Linked DNA regions of Homo sapiens: regions 1 and 3 are each linked to region 2. Evidence: promoter capture Hi-C in human tissues and cell types (Jung and others, 2019). All regions are on one chromosome and are shown on one strand. Each heading gives the region's core, a stretch centred on a gene start or on the middle of the fragment in contact. The rest is flanking DNA. Distances are from core to core; before and after follow the strand shown. Region 1 overlaps GPC5 (glypican 5). Region 2 holds the start of GPC5 (glypican 5). Region 3 overlaps GPC5 (glypican 5).

Evidence for each region. Contacts are between HindIII fragments. The study calls those that stand out against the background at their distance.
Region 1: a contact is called between a fragment that was not itself captured here and the fragment with the promoter of GPC5 in region 2, in 1 of the 25 tissues and cell types used here (dorsolateral prefrontal cortex).
Region 3: a fragment that was not itself captured here is called in contact with the fragment with the promoter of GPC5 in region 2 in 2 of the 25 tissues and cell types used here (dorsolateral prefrontal cortex and lymphoblastoid cells).

The regions. Positions count from the first base shown.
Region 1 is chr13:91,739,123-91,742,646 of GRCh38, reverse strand. All of the region lies in intron 4 of GPC5 (glypican 5), which reads right to left. Among named protein-coding and RNA genes, the nearest start is that of GPC5, 340 kb to the right of the region's middle. The HindIII fragment of the contact is 3,119 bases long and covers 103-3,221 here.
Region 2 is chr13:91,397,177-91,400,558 of GRCh38, reverse strand. It overlaps GPC5 (glypican 5), which reads right to left and starts at 1,938. Exons shown (of 8, transcript NM_004466.6): 1 at 1,350-1,938. The coding sequence starts at 1,512. LOC124903189 (a long non-coding RNA gene) reads right to left here. Exons shown (of 2, transcript XR_007063831.1): 2 at 2,971-3,213. RefSeq lists silencers at 1,854-2,123, 1,830-2,124. The HindIII fragment of the contact is 16,121 bases long and covers 1-3,382 here.
Region 3 is chr13:91,660,248-91,664,083 of GRCh38, reverse strand. All of the region lies in intron 2 of GPC5 (glypican 5), which reads right to left. Among named protein-coding and RNA genes, the nearest start is that of GPC5, 260 kb to the right of the region's middle. The HindIII fragment of the contact is 3,363 bases long and covers 494-3,836 here.

The DNA.
Region 1 (3,524 bases), core at 413-2,912, 340 kb before region 2:
ACCCTCAAAACAAAAAGTGGGCATCTGTTGAATACCAAACATATGGGCACGTAGCCACATCCAAGACCAACTGCAATGTCAACTTCTAGTTCGTGCCAAATAGTTGAACCTGCCTCTTCTTTCAGGACTAGTGTGCATAATATAATTTTCTACTATGTGGATTTCATTTAAGATGATTCATGAAATGGCCATTAATTTTTTCATGAACATCTAGAAAGTAAGAGCATTTTTAAAACATTTTCTGTTTTTAATATTAGTTTTAGGTGGAGCAAAGTACTTTTCAATGCAACAAAATTCTGCATGGATTTGTCTGTGAACTTTCTTTTTCTGGGAACATTCATGGGATTCTCAGTGGGATACATGATCCCCAAAGGTTAAGAACCACTAGCCTGAACTTTTGCCATATGTTTGCTCTGCCTTCTGGCATTTGCTTTTCCTGTGCGCCTGTAGTTTGACCCCCTGCAGGTCCTGATCTTCATTATTCATGTAGGTCTTGACTCTGGCCTGCCTTGTAGCTCATGAGCTCATGTTCCCTCCATACCTGCTCTGGCCTCCTATCCAAAGCTTTGTCTTGGCCTGCCCTGCTCTGGAAGCCCTCAGTACCACCACCTAACAAGCACTGTTTTACATTAAGCAGATTTTTTTTCATTGAAAACATGACCTTTATTTTCACAAGTTAAGTTTACAGGTAATAAATAATGATGGCACCTCAAAGACGCACTAACTTTCACTTACGAGGAAATAGATTGTAAACTGCTTTCTCTGCTACTATAAATGATATTAAATTTTTCTGAAAGAATCGACTATTTTTTCAGACCTATGAATATTTTCATCCACTGAATATTTGTATATACAATTCATCATTAAGTCCAGTATATCTCAATACTGATTTACCATCTAAACAAACATATATACTCAGTGTGTAATATCAAGAATTTTTAAATTTAACTTTGGATTCATTAATAAAGTGTTGTATTAGATAAGATTTGACTATGTAACTATAAGCTCTATGTTTTTTTATTATAAACTCTATGCATTTTAAACTAACTGATGCCATTTAATATGAATCTATCTACCTTAGCAATAATCTTAAATAACATTAAGTGTTCTTCACTGAATAAACATTTAAAATTTTTTCCCACGTTTAATTATTTTGAACACTTCCCTGTGTTTTTCTGTAATGTACAGGATATTAATTTACTTTAGTTGACAGTGACATTCTGAATGAGAATCATGCCCTGCCTCATTTCTTTCATTAAACTGCAATTTCAAGTGTCCTCTTTGCTTTCTGTTCTTAATAAATAAAACTGTTAATGTTCCAAGTGATAAAATTCTCACTCAAATCACGATTTAATAAATGCATTAGAATGAACTGGAAATGTCTAATGATATAATATTTCAATTAAGTTCTGAAGACAAAATTGAAAAAAACTCAAAATTTATATTTTGTTTCAAAAAAATCCAATATTTCTAAAAATTCTGCATTCCCCACCTTGACATCAAAATCCTGTCTGATAGTAAAAATATCTTATTTTTACTAAGCACCTAGGACACTCCCTATTATGCAAATACACACTCATGCATGCAGCCAATCCCCTTAATCATGCATTCTGAAATGAGAGGCCTGGCTAATTGGAATGCTTGCTGGAGAACAGATGGGGCACTGGTGTTGAGACTCCATCTTAATTTATTGTCCTGGGGTTTTCCTAATTACCTACTTAATTGGCACAGCCACACCACTTTGAAATAATAATGTACAGCTAATTATCACCGATTTAAGCTTGCTAATAGCTTATTCTTACCAGCTAACTTCAAGAAATCAAGCAGAGAGCAGGAACTGCCACAGGGAAATCACTCTGCCTGGCCTGCTTTAGACAACTATATGAGCGCAATGTCCTTTACAGCTGTGTTGATTTGGTCTCTGCTCAAAAAGGGAAAATTGTGATGCTTTGCTGGCTGTTTAAAGGAGCAGTAGCTCTTCCTTACTTTGCTCAACTTTGGAGACCTCCGTAACTGGTATGTATCAATCACTCAGGGTCTTTGATGTGCACATTATTAGCATGCTATATAAACAGAAATGGATTGGGGAAATTGAATCAGGACAATTACGTCTCCAAAATAAAAGAATCCAACTCTATGGTTTAGCTCCCCTCTCTCCAAGCTAAAAGAAGACTCACAATGTCCACAAAGGAGCTTAGCACAACTCTTATCCAGGAATAAGGAAATTTTCCTTCTTCAAATGTTAGAAGCAAAACAAGGAAAAAGCAATGTATTTAACAGAAGGGACCTCTGTGAAATGAATATAGAAAAACAGGGAGAAAAAAATGGTTAGGAACTTGGGAATATTAAGAGATTTCTCTATCCTAAGGAGAGGATACTGTAATCCTGCCTTCACTTACTCTCATTCTGCATTTATTTTAGGTACCTTTAAAAATTCAGGCATCTCTAGGTCAGATTCCCTAGAAGCAGTGCCTAAGACAGTAATCAGTATGCAGGCAACTCATCAGGGAGTGCTTTTAGGTAAAAGCGAGAAAGGGAAGCAAGGGCAGGTGTGGCGGAAGAAGCTAAGTGGGGATGTGGGCTCAGCTTCAGCCAGATACCACAAGAAGCACTGAAGCATGCATTTCACCAGGTTTGGTCCCACACCTTGAAGCAAGGGGCAAGCCTCTTCTATCCCTGTGTCAGTCAGTCATTGCCTGTAAGTTGCTGCCAAGAGCCTGAGGTAGGTGGCAGTCTAATCCCTTTCCACAGGTGGATGAGATGGATGAGAGCCAGTCTCCATGATAACTCCCCACAGTTTCATCCCTCATGCCTTTGCATAGTCCCCTTCTACAATGAAGAGGGATGACCTGTGTAACCTATGGAATATTGCAAAAACAATAGTATGTGATTTCTGAGTCCAGCTCATATAAGACGGCAGCCTCTGCCTTGCTCTCTCTTAGATTTCTTGTTCTGAGGGAAGTTAGCCGCAATGTGAAGACACTCAAGCAGTCCTATGGAGAGGTCACTGTGACAACAAACGGAGGCCTCCCACCAACAGCCATGTGAGCAAGCAATCTTGGGAGATGATACTCCAGCCCCACTTGAGCTTTCAGATGACCACAGCCCTAGCTGCCTTCTTGACAGCAGTCTCTCTAATGACCCTGAGCATGAACCCCGCAACTAATTAGCTCCCAAATTCCTAACAGAAAATAGGATAATAAATGCTTATGGTTGGTTTAAGCCACTACGTTTTGGAATGATTTGTTAGATTGCAATAGATAAGAAATAATACCAATGGCTCCTATTTGTTGAAGGCAATTTCCCAGGGACTAGAGCAGCTATGAGTTGGAACACAGCAGCCAGGAGGCAGGTAAAAGGGCCAGGTGAAGAGGATATGAGTAGGGCCAACAGCAGCACCCACAACCTTAGTTATTTCTCATATTATATTTGTTCCACTACACTTTCCATACCACTTAGACACAACGTGTAATGTTATGAAGTTAATGAGGGCTCAGTCATGAACTTAACGATGGCTTAGACAT
Region 2 (3,382 bases), core at 689-3,188:
AGTGAGATTTATTTCCTAATGAAAAGAATGCACTAAGAAAAATACAGATCTATAAGGCGATATTTTATTTGGGGATAGAAGAATCGCCCTAAACTGAGAATGTCAACTTTGTTTCAAGTAATACAGAAAAAGCACCTAGTACCAAACAGGTATACAAAGAAATAGCTGGGTTTAAGACTGGTCATGTAAACTCAAATGGAGTCAGTGTTCCCGAATGCCTAGATTTTCTTTCTGGGATGACTTAAAATTGAGCAAAGCAATCAAGAAAAGCGGCTACAGCTCACACTTCCTCATTGCTACAAGCAAGTCCCCCAACCCTGGAAACTCGGGACTTTAGACTTAAGCGTCCTCCACAAGTTCTTTGTTCAACCAGTAACCTCACAGATTCGTCTGTGTTGGCTTCATAGTCACAGCTAAAGGGGTGCATGGCTCTAGTGAGATCTTACTTAGCTCTAGACACCTGCTATTGCGTTTGACAGCTATGACCTATTCTTCCAGACAGAACCTACACTGGAACTCCCACCAGCAGAAGGAAATTGGTGCGGTGGAAACGGGGAGCAGGGTTCGAAAGCACAGGCAAAAGGCGCTCACAGGAAGCAAGATCCACGCTGGCCACACAAACTGTATCTTTCCCTTTGGAACGCTGGTACATCTCATCCATGTCAAGTGACTCCCCAGTACGTTCGGTTTGATCGCCTGTTGCCCTAACACTTTTCAGGCTAAAAACTACCTTGGTGCTGGGAGACACACTGGGTGGTTGGGTTTCCTCCAAGCAGGGCTTGATACGAGGGCACAGAAGGGCAGCTAAGGGTCACGTCTCTGGGTGCACAGGGTCCAAGTCCTAATTACAGAGGAGACCGGCTGCCCTTGTCTGTGCCCCATTCTCCAGCAAAGGGGTATATCGCAGGTTTGTGATTTTTAGTACCAAACTTGGGGCGATCAATTCAATTCCCTCCACCTTATGAGAAAGCAGTAAACCGAAATCCCCGGTGGGGCACTGGGGAAATTCCTACTCGGAAGAGAAACGGAGTTAGACTGCGTGTCCCCCACGCCCTGATGTCTGCTTTCCTGGTTCCTTCCAACTCATCCTCCAAGACGAAGGGAGCCGGGCGGGAAGCAGATGCCCAGAACGGGGATTCGTCGCAGGCTTGGTTAGGGGTCCCCAGAGCTGCGCTGCGCTGCACTCAGGCTACCCGCACCAAGCATCCCCGGAAGCCTCCCCGGGATTCACCCTGCGCGGCTGCAGGGCCCGAAAGGTCATCTTCCCACGAGTGCCACCAAGGGAGCCTGGGGGAGCGAAGGCCGGGCTCGGACGCCGCCAGTCCAGAGACCCCCTCATTGCCCCTTACCTGCCCGCGGCGAATCCGGCAGCCCCCTGACAGCTCCCAGCAGCCGCCACTGGAAAAGTTTCCGAACTTCTTCGCAGGTCTGCACGCCCTCGCTGCGGGCGGACCCAACCAGGGCCAGAAGGAGGAGGCAGCGAAAGCCCACGGGCCAGGTCTGTGCGTCCATCCTCGCCGTCCTGGTCCCCTTTACCCGCCAGTGGACCCCACTCGCCCTGCGCGCCCTGGCTGAGCTGCAGACGTGGAAGACACAGCGGCCGAGGCTCTCGAGCGGTGCGAGCCGGCTGCGGGGTGTACGGACCGCCCGCGGGCACCGGCTTCACCTGGGAGCAGTTAGCTCTTCCCGGAGGAGGCCCTAAGCTGAGACACCAGAGTTTTCCAGCTGAGCACCCTCTGGTCTTCTTCCCTAGCCGAGAAGAGTGGGCGGCTGGGCGGGGCGAAGAAAACTAGTGGAGCCGCAGGGAGCCCGCAAGCATCCGCTCTGGCCACCACTGCTGCAACTGCTGCCGCTGCCGCCACTGCCGCCACTGCCGCCACTGCCGCCGCCGCCGCCGCCTCCGCCGCCCGGCTCGGCTCGCAGCAGCTAACCTGGGATGTGCCCGCTCGCTGCGCTCCGCGGAAGCCCCGCCCCGCACTCCCCGCCCCGCGGACAGGCCACGCCCCTGCCACGCCCCCGGCGCGCTGTCCCGCTCCGCACCCACTAAGATGCTGTCATACGCGGCCCAGTGCTGAAGACTCGGAGCGACATCGATGCAAATAAATAGAAGGAAACCCGGACCTCGCTCTCCCAGTCCGTTCTGGGGAAGAATCATCTGATAAAAACAGAGAATGTATAAATAGGGTCAGAGAAGACAAGAGATGAGAAACACCAACTGGAACTAAGAAATATCTCATCTATGTAATCAAGGTCCTCAGTACATAGGAATTTGTATTCTAATTGCATTAAATAGGATCTGGACATAATACAAAAGGCAAAAACTATTTACGGTTAAAGATCTCAATTGAGAGACTTCATAACACTTAGGTTGTTAAAGAGTGCACATGAGAAGTTATTTTTTAAAATGGCTTTGTTTTACTGCTTAGGAACATTTTTCTATAACATGATTTTCTGAAAGGAGGTATAAGAATTACAATCAAACTTTATCACATTCTTATCACAATGAAATCTAGTTTTAAGTCTCTTATCACCATTTAGCATCATATTTTACTTCAGCACTTTGTATTTGTGGGGCTCCTCTGAGCTTTACCACTTCTGGAATTTCTTTAAAATATTTTTCAGAGAGCAATTAAGTTAAGAGTGCTCAGGGGAGTTCCTTACAAGGAATATAGAAAAATAAATACTTTAAGCAATTTTAAAATGGCAAAGGAATTTTGTCAATTTACAGTTTATGAGAGGAATGCATTACGCACCATAAACCAAAGGGCAGGTGCATTTTTTAAATGTGGTTGACTCAACAACTAAGCCTGTAAGAGTGTCTCAATCTACAGCCACTTGAAGAGAGTACTCCTTCTGTAAAATAAACTAGTTAAAAGCATCAGGCAGAGGGGACAATGAATGCTTTAACCACTTTAAGGAATTTCATCTCAAATTTGAACCCTTACCAAGAGATAGTAGTGAAAAACTTTATGTCTTAGTGAAGATTTTTAATGAACATTTAATATCAAAGGCAGCACTTTCAGCAGTATATCACTTGCTTTAAAACCATTCCAGGGCAATGGCTGAAACACTGCTTCAGAGTGAAATCATGCTACTTGGTGTTTGGCATCAGTTTTCTGAATATGAGATTTTGTTTCAAAGGGCAGTGCTCTTCATGAATCTCTTCTGCTCTAACCACCAAGTATGGAAAGATTGTCTGGAAGCCACCTATATCTATGAAAAGAAACAAGAAAAACCATGAGAATGTATATAGTGCTTATGGGCCAGATAATATTCTAAGTATTTTATGGAAATGAATTCACTCATGTAATCTTTATAACAACCTTATAAAGTAGTTACTACTATTATCATTGTTTTACAGATGAGGAAACAGGAACACAGA
Region 3 (3,836 bases), core at 926-3,425, 260 kb before region 2:
AAAGTATCTTTCATTATATTATAGTGATTGTATAATCAGGACCTGGTTCAGAGTAAGTGCACAAAAAATATATCTGGAATCAGTAATGGTCAAAGATGTTATTGTAGAGCTAAGCATGGTGGCATGCACCTGTGGACCCAGATACTCAGGAGGCTGAGGCAAGAAGATCCTTCGAACCCACGAGTGCAAGGCCGGCCTGGGAAACATTGCAAGACCCCATCTGTTAAAATTTATTTTAAAGTTAAAAATTAATGTAATTGAAGCAGCTATAACTTGGCATCAACAAATTTAATGGTTTTTCATTATTTGAAACAAAATAGGGCTGGAAGCTATGACTAATGCCTGTAATCCCAACAACTCAGGAGGCTGATGTGGGAAGACTGCTTCAGGCCAGGAGTTAGAGACCATCCTTGGCAACATAGTGAGACCCAGTCTTTACAAAAAAAAAAATGTTTTTAATTAGCCAGGTGTGGTGGCTCACACCTGTAGTCCTAGCTACTCGAGAGGCTGAGGCAGGGGGATCACTTGAGCCTAGGAATATGAAGTTACAGTGAGCTTTGAACATGCCACTGCACTCCAGCCTGAATGAGAGAGTGAGACCCTGTCTCTAAAAAGAAAAGCAAAGAAACAAAATCAGTTTCAAATTCAGGGGGAAAAAAGAGGCTAAAATATAAGAATAATAAGCACATATATTTATACAGCAAAATGTAGGTATACTCACAACATGGACAAGCATATATTGGTATGTACACGGAGTGAGGAAATAAATGTCATGTAATGCTTGACCTGAAAACCTTCCATATGTAACTAAAAACTGAAATAATGAGAACTAAACCTGGCAAAATATTAGGAATCTTATGTTCCCCCAAATATGGGTCTTTACAATTGTCTGTGGCCGCAAATCCAATATTGAATATAACCATACTGAACTAAGTACTGGAGAGAATAAGTCAAGAACGTTTGTATTCTTACCTAGAAAATCAAGCCTTCCACTACTAGAAGATCTTGATTAAGATCTCTCCTCCCCACAACCTCTTAGACATTGTAAGTGAGGCAACAGTAGCTGTAGCTGCCTTCCCCATCTTGCAGGCTAGCCTTACACAAAATCTAGTTCCAGTTTCCTCTCACAGCTCTGATTTATCCATCTCTCTCTGTTTTGCTGGAATTCCAGCATGCATAGCAGCTGTAGCCAAGCTGTGTTTGGAAAGTCATTGGATGACTTAAGCTTGAAAGAGTAATGACATCACAGGTAGTATATGTTTTGGAGAGAGTGCCAGCAGGAGTAATGGAGCATTCCTTGGAAGCAGGAAGATACTATGGGAGTAGTGAGATGGTAATATGGTAATAATGAGCACAGCAAGATACTAGGGTAATAGTCCAGGTGAGAAACAATACAGAACCAAATGAAAATCCCTGGGGTAATAACAATAGGAGATGGAAGAAAATAATATTAAAAGATAAAACTGAATGAGGGAACAAGATTAGATATCTAAATGTTCGCACCAGTTAAGAGATTTATTACTTAGATCATAAGGGGAAAAATTCTTCTCATACTTTTACTGCCCCAATTTTCTGCAGCTCTTTGTATCAAAATTACTCAAGATTTATACATTATCATTCTCTCCAATTCTCTTTCCAATTCTCTATAAAACTGACTTTTATCAAGATGTCACCTCTACTTCACCAAATTAATCCTGCAAACTTCACCAGTGACTTCCATTTGATTGCCAAATCAGTTGGTGAATTTCAGTCCTCATCATAGGTGACATGTCAGCAACATTTGGCGGTCTCTCATTCCCTCCTCCTTAATACATTTTCTTTACTTGATTTCCAATATACTCTACTTTCTTGGTCTTCCTTCTGCCAACCTTACTGGTCATGTTTTTCTCAGCCTCTTTGGCTGTTTCCTTCTCTTCCTCCATCCTTCTAATTGAAAAGGTCCCAGGGCTCCTGCCTCAGTTCTCTTCTTCCCTCTGTTTCACTCACTTTTTGATGATCTCATCCAATCTCATAGCTTTAAATACCATATGTGAGCCAATGACTCCCAATTGTGTATCTCCAGCCTAGATCTCTTGTCTGAACTCTAGACATGTCTAGACTGTGCTCAAAACAGCAGTTTAATGAAATTTCTAAGACATAAGACCGTGCCAGTTCATTGCTGACAACTTTATGACTGTTCCCCACTCCACTTGAAGTAACAATAGCGTTCTTAAAAAGTCCCACAGGGCCCTGAATGATCTGACCCCTCGTTGCTTCTCTCACTTCCTCTCCTAATTCTCTCACTTTCTCTGATTCCAGTCTGGCTATGCTGGCTTCCTTACAGTCCTTTAAACACACCAAGGACATTCTTGACTTACAGACTTTCCCCCAACTCTCAGGAATATTCTTCCCTAGATGTCCTCATGGCCTCTTTCAATTCTCTGTGCCAATGTCACCTTCTCAATGAGGTTTTCTCCAGTAGATCTATTTAATATAACCCACTCTCAAGCCCTATGTAGAAGGTTCTACTTTTTTTTCCCCACAGTACTTATCACATAATGCATTGCATAAATGACTTATTTATTATGGCAATGCAACAAGCATAATTGCCAGAAAGTAAACCTAAGAGTTCTTGATGAGGGACAGAGGAACCTGCCCCCAATCCTGGCTGGAGGGGCTGCACCTGAACTCAGGCCCCATGGAAATCCACATGCCCAGGGGCATCTTCTCCTGGAATGAGGGCCTGAAAATTCCCAGGGTTACCAGGTATCGAACATCTGGCTTTTTCAAAAAACAATTCTAAAATGCTGCCCAGATATTCTGCTCAAATAGTCATTCCAACAGCCAGCAAAGTTGTCCACATGCCATCACAGTAAGAAAGAAAAGCAACAGAGGGTGATGTCCCTTCACCGCAACCCAGATCCACTGCATGGCCAGCAGAAGGCCCTGCCAGACTGTGGAAGAATCAGGGGACCCATACTTCTCTCGGTGACCCTTGCCTTACAGTGTGTATCAACAAAGCCTATTCTACCCCTGCAAGGATGTAGAATCTGCCCTTATTCCACACACAAGTAATATGTTTATTATTTCTTTTATATTTTTTTCTCAAAAGAATGTAAGCTCCACAAGAGCAAGTAATTGTGTTCCATTCTAAGTGACAGCACATTGCCTTGTACATAGTAGATACTAAATATTTGGTTCAAAAATCAAAGAAGACTAGAGATTTTTTTAGCCAGTGGGTGGGGTAAATGATTTCATTAAATAAAATAATAGAGAAGGAGGAGAAGGTTTAAGAAGGAGTAGTGACTTAACTTTCTGACTTAGATTTTGTATTTCTGAGATAGAAATGGTCCCTTCTGAGAAATACTACAATTGTCTATGCCTTCCAGATAAACCTACCTGAAATCCTTGAGCTAAATTTCCTGGTGATCTGATTAACAAAAGACCATATCCTTCCCATCTGTATTAGTTAACTATTGCTGCAAACAGATGATCCCAAAATTTAGTGGTTGATGACAACAAATATTTATTATTGCATAGATTCTATTTGTCAGAAATCAGACAGTAACTTACAGGAAGAGTCTCAGCTGAGGATCTTCTACAAGGTTATGTTCAGGGAATCTGCCGGGAATGCAGTCATCTCCAAGCTTCACTGGGTGAGGATCTGCTTCCAAGCTCAATCATGTGATTATTGGCAGGCCTCAGATATTTGCTTCCAGGCTCACTTATGTGGGCCACTCCACAGGGTGCCTCATAAGAGACTCAATATTTAGACAATGGGCAGACCATACATAAAAATAAAACTCTGACCCACAAGCTGCCACAACCAGTTTGGAAAGCCAAACCATAACCTCTGC